Regions from separate parts of the Homo sapiens genome. Here all the other regions are linked to region 3. The links are contacts of gene promoters, found by promoter capture Hi-C in blood cells and fetal thymus (Javierre and others, 2016). All regions are on one chromosome and are shown on one strand. Each heading gives the region's core, a stretch centred on a gene start or on the middle of the fragment in contact. The rest is flanking DNA. Distances are from core to core; before and after follow the strand shown.

Region 1 (3,278 bases), core at 257-2,756, 1.0 Mb before region 3:
ATTTGGATTCCTAGACAGGTTCTAGCATTTATTAGTTTTCTTACCTTAGGAACTTATTTAACCTTTTTGAAGCAGAGTTTTCTCATCTATAAAAAATGAGAATAATAATCCATGCCCTACAGGAAGTGATTGGTGTATTTTATCACAACACCTGAAATGTAGATGTTCGATACTTGATTAAAAATTGACGTAGAGCATAGGTGAGTCCTTAAGCGACTTCACATATGAAAATCTAGACTTGCAACAACAAAAAAGTAGTTGTGGATAATTATTTTAAAAGATTATTTTAAGAGAAATAACAACAGAATTACTTTAATGAGCATCTATTAGCACATTTAAAATTTAACAAAAACAACATGGTACAGAATATTAAGTATGGTGAAATATACTGGTAGAATTAACAGAACACCAAAGGACAAGACATTGTATTATTTCTAAGCCATTCATTTTCTCACTCCTATTAATAAAAATGACCCCCCACTACCACCACATACACACACTTGAATAACACCCAATAAGTATTTTATTTATTTATTTACTTAAAAAATTTTTTTTGAGATGGAGTCTTGCTCTGTCACCCAGGCAGAGGTGCAGTGGTGTGATCTTGGTTCACTGAAACCTCCGCCCCCTGAGTTCAAGCAATTCTCCTGCCTCAGACTCCCTAGTAGCTGGGATTACAGGCATGTGCTACCATGCCTGGCTAACGTTTATATTTCTAGTAGAGATGGGGTTTCGCCATGTTGGCCAGGCTAATCTCAAACTCCTGACCTGAAGTGGTCTGCCACCTTGGCCTCTTAAATTCTATTGTACTTTACACAAGTAAAACATATTACTCAGATATTTAGGTAATTTCATTTTTAAATTTAACTAGTGTCAATATGCGTGTAATAAAGAGCTGGGACTCACTTTCTCCTGTGAACTTTCTCTGCATGTCCCTCAGGCCTTTGACTTAATATGAGAAGTTGGCAAAGTACTTACAAATCTTAGATGGCTTTATTAAAGGGATAATAAAACTGGATGACCACATGTTGACACTGAATGCACTAATGAATCCAGGATTGTATATTCTATAATTATTCAAAATGTTATTAGAATATATTATCATAAGGTCTTCACTTTAAGCTTTTCTTCTAACAGAAATAATTTAATTGATGTTTTGTCAGTTTTTCTGAAAAATGAACAACTGAACTAAAGATAGGAAGTTAGCTGTAATAGAACAATATGCGTGTTTAAGAAAGACTGTGTGGGTGAAAAAGGATTGGTGGTCTCTTGAGTTGATTATGATTCTGAGAAATAAGATATACTAAGTTCAACCACCAGCTTCCTTGATGAACCATTTTGAAAAGTTACTTAGCTAAAATGCTACCGAAAGACCAAAATGCATCTGCTAACTTACAGTATATATAGAAAGGATGTTAAGGAGGCTGATATGGTCTCTAAGCTAGTGTATATATCATATATGTGCATTGTCATTTGATTTGGCACAATCAAGAGTTGTAGGGCATTCCTAGCAACTAACATCTGAGCATTTCCTTCAGCCCAAATCTAGCATGGCTAATGTTACTGACTGTCTTCAGCCGCATTTAAAGAAAATAGCCACTAAGAAATGCACAGCCATTCTCTTACCTTTCTTTTATTTTCTATGATTCTTCAACTCTCTTATTATAAAATTCAGATTGTGTGCTCAACATTCTTCAAAGCTCAACATAACACACAAATGTCTTGGAACTCTTATATGCCATTCACACAAACAGAGGACATGAATAGCAGACTCTCAATTGTAAGTCACATGCGTCCTGATATCAGTGTCTGGCTTCTGGGGCTTGACAACTCACAAGGTTTAAATAAACATATCACACATTTTCTTAATGAAATGAAAGGTTAAGCTTAAACTTTTTAAGGCTCGTGCTCGTCCATTGATTGCATTTTGCATGATATAATTAAGTTTATTAAAGAAGTGCCTATGTACCTGAGCTACTGAATAGAAGTAGCAGCAGTTGGGAGAATGATATGACTGGAAAGTAGTATTGACAATTGGCATTACAAGTTTCACTAAATGAAACAGAAAACTAACAATATGTAATGGATTTTGTGGGTTGAGCAGCAGCCAAGATGGCGAGGATGTCAGGCCTTGCTATGGATTCAATAATTAGTTCATGAGTTCTGCTGACTTGATGTCTATAATATTATTTATTTATTTATTTATTTTAATTAAACAACTATTTACTAAGCACTGGCTGTGGGCCAGAGTCAGAGTTAAGTGCTCTCTCACAAAGGTAACAAAATAGATATACTTCTTGTCATGTTCAAGACCTGTCAAGACCCATATCACTATGAAGTTCCCGCAGCATTAGTTGAGAAAGGCAGGGAAATTACCATATGATTCAGCAATCCCACTCTTGGGTATTTACTCAAAGGATAAAAAGTTCGATATCTGCACTCCCATGTTTATTGCAGTACTACTTACAATAGCAAAGGTATGGAATCAACCTAAGTGTCCATCAGCAGACAAATGGATAAAGAAAATGTAAGAATGAAATCCTGTCATATACAGCAACATGGATGGAATTAGAGGTCATTATGGTAAGTGAAATAAGAACAGGCATGGAAAGACAGATGCTTCATGTTCTCACTCATATGCGGGAACTAAAAAAGTTACTTATAAGGACGTAGAGAATAGAATGACAGATAGCAGAATCTGGGAAGGCTGAGTGGGTGGGAGAGGGATAACAAGAGGCAGGTTAATGTGTACGAACATATAGTTAGGTAGAAGGGCTAAGTTTTAATATTCACTAGCAGAATGGGGTGACTATAGTTAACAACAATGTATTTTATATTTCAAAATAGCTAGAAAGGGGACTTGAACTGTCCCCAACACATAGAAATGACAAATACTCAAGGTAATGGATACCTGGAATACCCTGACTTAATCATTACATGTAACAAAATATCACATGCACTCCATAAGAATGCGCAAATATTTGTACCAACTTAAAACCAGAAGAGCAGGGTAGAGATCCTGTAGGCTGGGATTTCCCTGATGACGTGGACAAGGCACTTAACCTCTTAGTCTCACTTTCCACTATCATACAAGGACAGAAAGAGGATAACAGTAAAACTGCTCCATCTGGCTTTCTCCCATTGTCGGTGTGATGTACAAATGAGATAATCGATATGAGAATGCTTTGAAAATTGTAAAGCACTCATTTTATTTTCACCTTGCTATAGACAGAAATAATAATTTCCACCTATTCACCTCATATGGATGTTGTTGCTTC
Region 2 (3,246 bases), core at 499-2,998, 1.1 Mb before region 3:
GCTCCGCTTCCTGGGTTCACGCCATTCTCCTGCCTCAGCCTCCCGAGTAGCTGGGACCACAGGCGCCCGCCACCGCGCCCGGCTAATTTTTTGTATTTTTAGTAGAGACGGGGTTTCACCTTGTTAGCCAGGATGGTCTCGATCTCCTGACCTCATGATCCACCCGCCTCGGCCTCCCAAAGTGCTGGGATTACAGGCGTGAGCCACCGCGCCCGGCCTGTTTCGAACTTTTTATTGGAACTTGTTTTTTTACAGCTGCCTTCACAGTAGCCCATAAATATTGATATTTATAATAATGTTTTTGTATGTTCAATGCTTCAAATATTTTACTCCATTTTCTCTTTTATCCAGAAGGTAACAATCATTTTTCTTTGTTATAAAATAACATATTTTGAGTGATACGATGAATAAAATATTTTGTTCACTTTCTATAAATTATTCGTATTCTGTGACTAAATTAAAGTTATAACATCATGTAACTCTTAAGAGTATTACTCACTATAGACTAACATATTTTTTCTCACTGAAAGGCAAAATGTCAATAAATCAAATGTTAACTTGTCCCTTTCAAGATAAACGTGCTCCTCCTTTTCATGGTTCCATTGAGTCAAATACTTAGAAACAAAAACAAATAGGAAGATATGGTTTTAAAATATTCATTTGTAGGATTAAATAATTTCAAACAGCATCAAAAAATATTTAAAATCCATTTTCTCCTTACCTTTCTATGTGCTAAAATTCAGTAAGTGGAGCTGATATAAAACCTGATATTAATAATCTTATTATGTCTAACAGTAATAGTTTTATTGTGGCTTAGCATGGCTTAATGTGGCTTACACTTCAAACAGCTTATCCTGTAACACAATCAGCTTTGGTCCATGACTCAGAAACAAAGCTACAGTGAAAATGGTGAAACCTACAGATTGTGGGGAGTACACACTATACTCGGCTGGAGATAAGCCAGAACCAAATGCTGATTATATAAGTATATTTTAATGTAACTTGCATATTAAAAAGTTATTATATTTTCTAAGTGTAGTTATCGCTTATAAAAAATTATAGTTTTCTAAAGTGTTTTAAAGTTTATATTGAGATTCAAAATATTTGTAAATGATAACACCTTGAGTTATAGATTCAAAAACTTGTTTTTAAATTCAGATATGAAGAAAATAGCTGTAATCTGCTTAAGATAATGTGCTCTATTTTTAAAAGTAAGTTTTAATGTAGTTTTCTAAAATATCCTTAATACATATACCTATTTTACATTTTATGACAGTCAAAAATTCTTTGAAAAAGAAACTTTTTCTCCTTGTTCTTTCTTTTTTTATTATACTTTAATTTTTAGGGTACATGTGCACAATGTGCAGGTTTGTTACACATGTATACATGTGCCATGTTGGTGTGCTGCACCCATTAACTCATCATTTAGTATTAGGTATATCTCCTAATACTATCCCTCCCCACTCTCCCCACCCCACAACAGGCCCCAGTGTGTGATGTTCCCCTTCCTGTGTCCATGTGTTCTCATTGTTCAATTCCCACCTAGGAGTGAGAACACGCGGTGTTTGGTTTTTTGTCCTTGCAATAGTTTGCTGAGAATGATGGCTTCCAGCTTCATCCATGTCCCTACAAAGGACATGAACTCATCATTTTTTATGGCTGCATAGTATTCCATGGTGTATATGTGCCACATTTTCTTAATCCAGTCTATCATTGTTGGACATTTGGGTTGGTTCCAAGTCTTTGCTATTGTGAATAGTGCCGCAATAAACATACGTGTGCATGTGTCTTTATAGCAGCATGTTTTATAATCCTTTGGGTATATACCCAGTAATGGGATGGCTGGGTCAAATGATATTTCTAGTTCTAGATCCCTGAGGAATCGCCACACTGACTTCCACAATGGTTGAACTAGTTTACAGTCCCACCAACAGTGTAAAAGTGTTCCTATTTCTCCACATCCTCTCCAGCACCTGTTGCTTCCTGACTTTTTAATGATTGCCATTCTAACTGGTGTGAGATGGTATCTCATTGTGGTTTTGATTTGCATTTCTCTGATGGCCAGTGATGATGAGCATTTTTTCATGTATCTTTTGGCTGCATAAATGTCTTCTTTTGAGAAGTGTCTGTTCATATCCTTTGCCCACTTTTCAATGGGGTTGTTTGTTTTTTTCTTATAAATTTGTTGGGGTTCATTGTAGATTCTGGATATTAGCCCTTTGTCAGATGAGTAGATTGCAAAAATTTTCTCCCATTCTGTAGGTTGCCTGTTCACTCTGATGGTGGTTTATTTTGCTGTGCAGAAGCTCTTTAGTTTAATTAGATCCCATTTGTCAATTTTGGCTTTTGTTGCCATTGCTTTTGGTGTTTTAGACATGAAGTCCTTGCCCATGCCTATGTCCTGAATGGTATTGCCCAGGTTTTCTTCTAGGGTTTTTATGGTTTTAGATCTAATGTTTAAGTCTTTAATCCATCTTGAATTAGTTTTTGTATAAGGTGTAAGGATGGGATCCAGTTTCAGCTTTCTACATATGGCTAGGCAGTTTTCCCAGCACCATTTATTAAATAGGGAATCCTTTCCTCATTTCTTGTTTTTGCCAGGTTTGTCAAAGATCAGATAGTTGTAGATATGCGGCATTATTTCTGAGGGCTCTGTTCTGTTCCATTGGTCTATATCTCTGTTCTTTCTTATCTTGGAAACTATTTCAGATAATAGAGAATTTCAGATTAATTAAGAACTAAAATTTGAGGTATCCAAAGCCTGATGATTTAGTGGATATGATATTTCAACACAATCATAAACTCTAATATTAGAAAATTGAAGTTATTTTTAATTTTAGTTCTGTATAATTGAACCTAGCTTAGAATATGAGCTCTTTTGCTTAGTGGCGTTTCACACACATGCTTCTGTTTTAAAGCTCAGTCTCTTTGAGGTAAATATTCAGTTCAAAATTCTCCTCTTCTTCGTTTTTTTTCTGCATGGAAGTGTTCTAAGTACCTGGTGGACTTGTTGTGTCATCAGGGACACTGCTCTGCACCAAATGTCATTTTCTGATCTCACTGGCCTCTGCAGAGATCTAATAATCCATTCTTCCTGGTGCTTAGGATCATCGTGAGTCTGTGCTATACCTGCAATTGTTTAGTCAATGCGGTCAGCTTCATTGTCCAATCACAAGACCTCTTCTAGCCCTAGTTCATTATCTGTCTGAATGCTGGTCAAATTTTATCTCTTTGGGACCTGTTATT
Region 3 (3,594 bases), core at 599-3,098:
TCAAAACACTTCTGGTCCCAAGCATTTTGGATAAGGCATACTCAACTTGCATCTAACTATCCATAATTATTGTTAGCATTTGGTTGATTTCCTTTTATTTGTTTATTTATTTATATGTTTTTTTGAGACAGAGTCTCACTCTATCATCCAGGCTGGAGCACAGTGGTGCGACTATAGCTCACCGCAGTCTTGAACTCCTGGGCTCAAGCCATCCTCCCACCTCAGCCTCCTGAGTAGCTGGGACTACAGGTACACACCCCACACCCAATTATTTTTTAAATTGTTAGTAGAGATAAGATCTCCCTATGTTCCCTGGGCTGGTCTCAAACTCCTGGGCTCAAGTTATCCTGCACCTCAGGCTCCCAAAGTGCTGGGATTACAGGTATGAGGCACCATGCTGAGCTTCACTTTCCTTTTATTTATTTATTTTTTTTTTCTGTGTACATTGTGTGTAATTTTAGAAAAGGGAGATCATAATTTATACATTTTGTGCACTTTCTCAGATCATTAAATATTCCTTAAAAATATGATTTTTAGTGGCAGTGTAGTATGCCTTTACGTCATTCTCCACTTCTTGCAATTTAGATGTGCAATTTTATAGCATTGTACTATAAAACTATTAAACTTGTCATGTTTCCACTTGCCTGAGAAAGATACAGAATAATAGAGTCACATTTGCTATGATTAAGTCTCCTTTCCTGGTGATTTAGGGTTTAGAGTCTGAAGTGTGTATAATAATATGAATTTAACAATCCAGCAAGAATAGACATATTGGAATAGGTTGCCAAATCACAAAGTGCAAACCCAGAGTATTTTCCCCTCTGCTTACTCCTTTGTCTTTGTTAGCAGTGTGAATTACTGAATGATAGAAAGTAAGACCACAGCAAATCAAACATAGTAACAATCTGCTAAACGTAGATTATTATTAATACCTGCACGTATATTAACTGAAGAAAATAAACTGTAATAGAGGCTGTATGGCCTTTAGAACTAGAAAGACTTGAGTTTCTTTCCTTCTGTAAGCCTCAGCCCTCTCATCCTTAAGACAGCAGTTACAATGCCTACCTCACTGGGTGTTTGATTCACTGAAATCGTGAATATAGAATGCTCTCACTTTATGCCAGTTTCTTCTCTCTCTACCCGACCTTCACGCATGTTCATGCACACAAACACATGCACACTCATAGGTTCATAAACATACACATGCTTAAGGAGTATTGTAATACATGTGGAGACTGATTTGAGTTCACACATCGAAGGTTCCATTCTTCCAGAAGAGAAATTTATTAGGAAAACATTAGTCAACATCTCTGTGTGTACTGTTTCTGCTATATAAATGTCTAAATTAAACTGTAAATATTTTAGTCAGTACTGCTTTCCTTTAATGTGCACTCCAGAAACCATACCAACCAAGATATACTCCTGTAATATTCTCTGTGATTGACACCTACGCTCTATCCTGTACTCAAATCATTTCAATATCCCTCCTCCCATTTTCCAGATCTGTAGAACAGAGAATAAATATGCTTCAAGCTGGAAAGATTTCTTCTCTCCTCAAATAGCATAAAGAAATGACTGATGCTCTTTCTTATGGCAACAATTCATGTGTGCTTTTCTGGGGCTACTGCTGAATAAATTTATCTTACCTATTCAAGTGGCCTATACCTGATAAAATTTGATTAAAATACTCATGGAATTCAGGGAGAGAAACATCTACAAAATAATATATCTGAAACAAAAAGACAGATTTGCCTAAAAAGAACTTACCCTATACTGTAGTTCCCCCACTTTTAAAAGCTGCCATTCCTATTCAGTGTAGTTTTCTTACGCGGACTCTGTTTATATGCTGGTGGTGGTGGTGGAAGTCTGTTGATAAGCTGATATCCAAGCAACATCATGTGATGAAACAAAGAGCTGGGGAAATCTGGCTGCATGCCTTTCTTCACTTCTGGGTAACATTCAGCTACACAGTTTGATATTTTTTCTTCCACATTTTGTGTCTAATCAAGTGTCATCTTCTAAATCTACCATATCTGTGTTACATGCAGATATCGGGGGTAACATGCATAGAGGCAGAGATTCTAAATATTAAAGGTCAACAAATCCATCAGGGCAATGGGCCATGACATAAATATTTCCAAAATTTGGAGTCAGTAGTCCCCTTCCTCATTGCTCAGGATGATGAAGGAAGAGTTCCTGAATATAGAGGTATGGGCATGAATTTGCCTGTGGTAACCTATGAAATTATTCCATAGTTTAAGCTAAGTTCCCTTTCATTTTGTGGGGGAATAAGATATTCTCCATATTTTATCTTAATTAGAGGCTACATATGATGATAATTAACCTGTGGCGTAAGACTAGAGCCCACACTGACCTCATCCTTTCTTCTGTGATAGCATTATTCTACTGGCTTCCTTTCTTTCTCAAGTGTCCTCCTTCTGAATGCCAGCTTATCTGCAAAGATGAAGAGTTCCTAAAGAAAAGGGAAGAAGAAATATCAAAAGAAAATACATTCAAAATTCTTAGGAGACTAAGGGGAAGAAAAAAGCAGGGAGATGAGAGTGATGAATCATATGCCTTAAAGAAGAAAGGGCTCAACAGATGCAAAAGTCTTGCATTTTTTCCCCAGTAATTTGAATGCAGACCTCCTGGGAAATAAGCACAGCACAAACAAGTGTCTTTAAATGCCAGTAAATAACATAAAATCTTTCACTGGATCTGAGAGGTTGATGATTCTTTACCAAGAGATAAAGAACAGTGGTGTGCAGAGTTGACATTGTCAATCGAGTCTTCCTCAAACGTTTTTCCAGGATATGATGAAATTCATTCTGGGTGCACTGCATCTGCTGATGTTGCACACACATGCTGAAATTCCTACCAGCTTGCCTTGGACGCTACTCAATCAGGAGAACAGTAACAGATCTGTGTTTGACAGAGGGCATTTAATGTAAGGAATCTGTTATGAAAATATAGAAATGGGTTAGAGGAGTAAAACAAGAAGGGTTAGGTTATCCAAGGACTGGCAATTGCACTAAACTGTGATTGCACATAGAGCTGGAGGACAATAGGGAAAATGATTTTACCCACAGCCCATGGACACTGTGCCATAGAGGCTGCTTCCTTTGGAGAACTGCTGCCTGAGCAGCGCCTCAGGAACCTGTGCTCACCAGGCACCCTTGCTTCTATGTTCTTGCCCAAACTGCTAATCTTGCTGTTGCTGTCACCACTGTTGCTGTCCATGTGGCTGCTGCTGCTGGCACTGCCACAGGTGCAAGCAGAAAGTATTTTTAAAAAATGGCTTCTTCCCTCCAGCCTTCATTCATGTCCTGCCCTCCATTGGATGCCAGCTAGCAAGGGATTTTGGGAAATGTATTTTGCAGTCTTCCTACTACTCTGATAAACAGAAGGGTATAGAAGAATCAACATGAGGCCGACAGATGGTGGACACTCTCTAACACAAACACAAATCTAAGAGGTACCTTTGGGACCTATGAAGTCAGGCAGGAGGATGAAGGACTTAGACATACAGTCAATGTTTACCTAACATCACTGAAAGTTGTCAATTTATAAGAAAAGAGGAAATAAGATAAAACT

Evidence for each region. The method cuts DNA at HindIII sites, captures the fragments that hold promoters and counts their contacts. A CHiCAGO score of 5 or more calls a contact.
Region 1: a fragment that was not itself captured here is called in contact with the fragment with the promoter of FAM216B in region 3 in 1 of 17 cell types (M2 macrophages); the score reaches 8.3 in M2 macrophages.
Region 2: a contact is called between a fragment that was not itself captured here and the fragment with the promoter of FAM216B in region 3, in 1 of 17 cell types (monocytes). The highest score is 5.3, in monocytes.

The regions. Positions count from the first base shown.
Region 1 is chr13:43,799,141-43,802,418 of GRCh38, reverse strand. No RefSeq gene overlaps it. Among named protein-coding and RNA genes, the nearest start is that of ENOX1, 14 kb to the right of the region's middle. The HindIII fragment of the contact is 764 bases long and covers 1,125-1,888 here.
Region 2 is chr13:43,833,541-43,836,786 of GRCh38, reverse strand. It overlaps CCDC122 (coiled-coil domain containing 122), which reads left to right. Exons shown (of 7, transcript NM_144974.5): 7 at 1-435. Among named protein-coding and RNA genes, the nearest start is that of CCDC122, 45 kb to the left of the region's middle. The HindIII fragment of the contact is 4,663 bases long and covers 1-3,246 here.
Region 3 is chr13:42,779,838-42,783,431 of GRCh38, reverse strand. FAM216B (family with sequence similarity 216 member B) reads right to left here and starts at 1,848. Exons shown (of 4, transcript NM_001318932.2): 1 at 1,768-1,848. The HindIII fragment of the contact is 7,774 bases long and covers 1-3,594 here.